Linked DNA regions of Homo sapiens: region 1 is linked to region 2. Evidence: promoter capture Hi-C in human tissues and cell types (Jung and others, 2019). All regions are on one chromosome and are shown on one strand. The core of a region is centred on a gene start or on the middle of the fragment in contact, and the rest is flanking DNA. Distances in the headings are between cores, read along the strand shown.

Evidence for each region. Contacts are between HindIII fragments. The study calls those that stand out against the background at their distance.
Region 1: a contact is called between a fragment that was not itself captured here and the fragment with the promoter of CDH23 in region 2, in 8 of the 25 tissues and cell types used here (H1 embryonic stem cells, adrenal gland, bladder and 5 more).

Annotation. Positions count from the first base shown.
Region 1 is chr10:71,523,943-71,526,642 of GRCh38, forward strand. All of the region lies in intron 6 of CDH23 (cadherin related 23), which reads left to right. Among named protein-coding and RNA genes, the nearest start is that of CDH23-AS1, 13 kb to the left of the region's middle. The HindIII fragment of the contact is 8,250 bases long and covers 1-2,700 here.
Region 2 is chr10:71,395,533-71,398,232 of GRCh38, forward strand. CDH23 (cadherin related 23) reads left to right here and starts at 1,388. Exons shown (of 70, transcript NM_022124.6): 1 at 1,388-1,786. RefSeq lists a silencer at 907-996 and an enhancer at 1,680-2,191. The HindIII fragment of the contact is 12,378 bases long and covers 1-2,700 here.

The DNA.
Region 1 (2,700 bases), core at 60-2,559, 130 kb after region 2:
GCCACAGGGCCTTTGCACGGCCTTTCTACTTCCCTGGAACACATCACCCTCCCCGTTTTTCATGAACTCCCAGCTTCCCCTGGGATCTTCCATTCCTAATTCATCCCTCCTCCCAATGCAGAAAGATTTTTCTGTTCTTGGGCTTTCAGAGCAGCAGAGCTTCTATAGCTTTGACCTTGAGGTGTAATTACTCACATATATGCAGGACTATTTGATCACTGTTAGCTTCTTACGGGTGACTGTGAGCTCTGTGAAAGCAGGGGCAGGGACATGTGGCTTTCCACCGTGGACGGACCCTCAGGGCCTGGCGCACGGTGGGGACTCAGCGGATTTGTTGCAGGATGCCGTCCCTGCCCTCAGGGAGCTTCCTCCCGCTCCTCTGTAGCCCATATCCTTTAAGAGAGGAATTCCATGAACCAGCCCTTGGTGTGCTCTCTTCCAAGACCCGTGCTGAAGGTAGCTCAGAAGTGCGGTTCGAGCTCCCTGCCAGGCCGTGGGAGAAGGGCTGAGTCTGGCCTCGTCAGTCAAAGGCAGCTAGGGGCAAAAGGAGGATGCCTTGCTCAGGGCTACTGGAGGAAATCGCGTCATCTAATGGGGCTGGAGTGTGGTAAGCAGAGTAATGCCCCCTTGCCCACCAAAGATGGCCACATCAGAATTCCTGGAACCTGTGACTGTGTGACCCCACATGGAAAAGGGGATTTTGCGGTTAAGGACCTCTCTGTGAGGCCTCTGTAATCACCAGGGTCCTTATAAGAAGCAGGTAGGAGGGTCAGAGGAGAAGACATGACAGTGGATGCAGAGGTGAGTGTTGGGATCTGAGGTTGTTATGTTGCTGGCTTTGAGGATGGAGGAAGAGGACAGGAGCCAAAGAATGTGGGTGTCCTCTAGAAACTGAAAAAGGGAAGGAAACAGATTTCCCTTGGAGCCTCCAGAAGGAACGCAGCCCTGCGACACCTGTATTTTATTTCATTTTATTATTTACTTATTTTCTGAGACAGAGTCTTACTCTGTCACCCAGGCTCTAGTATAGTCTCAGCTCACTGCAACCTCTGCCTCTTGGGTTCAAGTGATTCTGCTGCCTCAGCTTCCCAAGTAGCTGGGATTACAGGCGTGCACCACCATGCCCAGCTAATTTTTGTATTTTTAGTAGAGACTGGGTTTCACCATTTGGCCAGGCTGGCCTTGAACTACTGACTTCAAGTGATCTGCCCACCTCGGCCCCCCAAAGTGCTGGGATTACAGGCGTGAGCCACTGTGCCCGGCCGACACCTGGATTTTAGCCCCCTGAGGCCCATGTTGGACTTCTGACCTTTAGAACCACAAGGTGATAAATCTGTGTTGTTTTAAGCCACTACGTATGTAGTAACTTGTTACAGCAGCCATAGGAAACTGACTCAAGGTGCTTTGGAGGCAGAGCAGTGGGACATGTGTTCTAAAGTGCACCCCTGAAGCACCCCCAGGCTCTACCTGCCTTGCTTCTCTGTGGCCTTCAGGCAGGAGGATGGAAGCAGGTTGTCTGCACAACAGTGGGAAGCTGGTGGTTTTTGGGAACAATCCACGAGGGCCAGCCGTGGGCAGAGCATCCAGGACTAGGGAGGGTAGCTGGCTGGGAAGAGGCCCCATGGAAGCCAGTAGGGGTGGAGTGGTAGAGTCCAGGAACCCAGAGCTGCCAGCTGCAGGCAGGAACCCATACCATAGGTGGGGAGAGAGGGAGAGATGGCAGGTACGGGGTGCTGGTGGTGCTACATCCAACAAGTGGCCACCACACTGCTGGGACACCACAGAGGAGGGTTCAGCGGGGGCCTGAGCATCCGTGACCCTCCTGGGAAACCTGGCTTCTTGGCAGCAGCCCAGAAACCAGAGAAAGAGGCGTCCCTGCTTGGCTTGCTACAGCAGAGTGGCAGAGGCATGCTAGAGTGTTGCTTCCATGTGCCAACCCCACCCTCATTCATTCATTCATCTACTCACTCACCAAACATTGCCTGAGGGCCTGCTGGGTGCCAAGCCCATGCTTGGTGCTGGGAACCCAAGAGGAATGAGTCCCTGGCCTCCAGCAGATCCTGGCTGAAAGCCTTCACCCACAGCAACAGGATGCAAGACCCAGTGCTTGAGGACCCAGATAGCCACCAGCAAAAGCTCGGCCCTCTGCATCGCTGAGGGGGTGGAGCAGGGGGTTCACCCATCCCAGCTTTGGTGCTACAAGAAAGCCGGGCCCTGCCTTGGTTCCCAAGTCCCTGGTCCTCCTGTGGCATGTATCAAGCACATCTTCCTCTAGGCGGTAGAATTGGGTCAAATGAGCTTCAGATGAGCCTAGCAAAGTGGCTGTCCCTGTCCTGTCCCACCCCTACACTTGCCCCCACTGCAGCATCCAGCGCTCACCTGTGGCTCTCCACGTGGGCCCAGGAGGCAGGAAGAGGGACTGCCTGGGTCCAAGGTGAGCAGAGGGACTTCCCCCGTTTCTGAGTTATCTGTCTGCTTCTCTATTTCTGAGGTGGGCGGAGGCCCCAAAAGATGGAAAAGGGCTGCCTGAAGTTAGGGGCATGAAGGAGGAAGGGGCAGGGCACAGGCCTGGCATGGGCTCAGATAGACCGTTCCCTGCACTGACCTCCTTCTCCAGTTTCTGCTTATGCCACTCGTATGACACCTGGGACCTCTTAGTCTCAAGCTCCAGGATTCACAAATGATAAAAAATGGGGTCTG
Region 2 (2,700 bases), core at 138-2,637:
CTGATTCTGGCTGTAATTTTACCTGCTTATGTGTTTCATTGATGAATGTCTGGTTCCCCTACTAGAGAAGCTTCATGGGGCACAAAGACCAAGCCTGTTTTGTTCTCCATCCTATTCCTAGAAACTATTTCAGTTAGCTAGCACATAGCAGTGACTGTGAATGAATGAATGAATAATGAATGAGCGAATGGTAAGGAACTGGAGCTTTGGAACCAGATAGATTCTGGGTTCAATACCCGACTCCACCACAGGGGCAAGTCCCCAACCTCCTAAAGCCTGTTTCTCACTGTAAAACTGGGATAATGGCAGGGCCCACCAGAAAGACTTTATTGAAGATAGAATGAGTTGAGGCCCAGAAAGTCTCAGCCCAGAGCCTGGCTCCAGGCAGGTACTGTCAATGTACTGACTGGAACAGTGACAGCTCGGAAATCCTGTCATGTGAGAAATAGTTTTAAAAAATCAGAATGCTTAGCCCCGGGGAAGTAAAGATCAAAGGTAGGGGATAAACCTCTTCCATTACCTGCATATGGACCCTTTCTTGATCCAGCTGTCTCAGAAAGCCATAAAGTCTCTGTCCCTATAGGTGTGCAAAAAGGAGCCGGGAGACCATGACTCGGGCACTGCAGACGGAGCTCCCGCAGGGGTGAGGGCGCCTAAGTGACCTCACGGGTCTCCTCCAACCCGGGGTCCTCCATTTCTAAGCACTTGGAGGCCTCTTGAGCTCTAGTGAGGGAGGAGGCGCAGATGGGAGCGCACGAGTCGGGTGGGCAAAGGCAGCTGGTTGGAGAGAAGCGTAGGCCAAGAGGCCCCAAGGACTAGAGGGACTGCTCAGCGACTCTGGGAGCAGAGAGGGGGCGCTTAAAGCCAACAGATGGCGCGGGCTCACCTAGGCCGAGCGCCCGCTCGCCCGCCCGGGCTTCCCGGGAGCGTTACCTCGCTCTGCCTGAGGCGCGGGGCGGACGAGACGCTGGGGGCCCCATCCCCCTGCGCGCCCCTCTGCGGGACGGCTGGCGGCCTGGCGGGGCACTGCTCTGTCTCGCACCTGGGGCCTCTTCCGCGGGCTTCCTCCCTGCCCCTTTGGGGGATTCGTAGAGTTGCCACAGCAGCCGGTGCCATGACATCGGCAGAGGGCAGCTTCGCCAGCACTGAAATATTCATGCCCTGAGCGCCCGGCGGGGCTCGGCGCCGCTCCCGGGGGTCCGGGCGGGGCCGGGCGGGAGCTCGGGGGTCCTGGCGGCCTGAGGGGTGGGGGAGCGCCGAGCGCGGGCGGGCGGGCGGGGGCCGGGCGAGGCGGGAGGTGAGGGAGGGAGCTGCGGGAGGCGGGGTCTGGACGGCGGGGGCCGAGCGGGGCGGGGGCCGAGCGGGGCGGGGGAAGCAAGGGAAAGTTGATCGCGGACTTGAGCGGCGGCGGCGGCTCGGGAGAGAGGGACGCGGGCTGCAGGCGCGATGCTTGGCTAGAGGACGCGTCCGACGGCGGCCGGACGCTGAGGTGGTCGGGGCTAGTCAGCCCGGCCTGGGCATGGAGCGCGGGGTGGCAGAGCCTCTGGACGTTTGGGGCGCGCCCAGTCCGAGCCCCCGGCGCGCCTGAAGTTGCGAGCGGCGAGCGGCGAGCGGCGAGCGGCCCGCGGAGACCCAGGAGCTGCCGGCACGCCGCGGATGAGCCTTCGCGCCGGCGGGAAGACGCGGCGGTGGCCAGGGCCAGAGCAGGCGGCCCGCGGGGGCCGATCCGGCGGAGAGCAGAGCCCGAGGCGAGGCGAGGCGCGGCGCCGCTGCACACACGCACACGGTACCCGGAGCCACGCACCGCCTCTTCCCTCCTCGCTTCCCTCTCCTTCCCCTCGCCGTTCGCCCGCCGCGCGGCGGGGAAGTTGGTGGTGACCGCGGCTGCCGAACCACTTGTTCCCAGCGCGGCCATCGCCCGTGGCGGGCGCTCGCGGCATCCTTCGGTCCCAGGCCCCTGGCCCTAGCCTCGCGCCCCGCTCCGAGCTCCCCGACGCGCGGCAACTTTGATTCCTGGGAACTCGAATTCCATTCGCGTTGGCCTTGGGAGGACAGGCATCCCATCCCCCATCCCCGGTCCTGGGACCGCGAACATTTGGGGGCTTTGCTCTCGGCGCTACGGAGAGGGTCCAGGTCTGGGGTGGAGAGATTTTCGAGAGTGGAGCGCGTTGGGATCCAATCCCCTCCCCTTCTGAGCCCTGGGTCCCCATTTGGACAGTGGGGATGGGGTGGGGCGCACCCCTACTGCGGGCTGGGCAGAGGCGCTGAGGGGAACTAAAGGCACGTAGTTCTCCCCTCCCCTCATCAAGTCCCTGTGCCCGCGGGAGACCCCAGGGGACTTACACATCCTCCCAAATTCGGTCCAGCTATGGGAAGACGCGCCCCTCGAGGAGCCGGGAGCCTTTTGCGGCTCTCGCTTCGCCTTCCTGGCCCTGGAACTGGTCCGCTACGAGCGGTGCTGGCTGCCCCCAGGAGCTGGCACCCGGGAGCACTGCCCCTCATCTCCACCGTAGGTCAGCCCAGGACTCGAGCAGAGCCCGCGTGTTCCAAGGCAGTGACGGCGCCAGCCGGCGGGGACTCTGCCTGGCTTTCTCGGAGCGGGCACCTAGAGAGGCTGCCTCCGTGCTGTGAGCGGAGATCCGATGCCAGCCGCCGCCCCACTGCGACCCCAGCCCCAGCCCTAGTGCTGTCAGCGGTCCA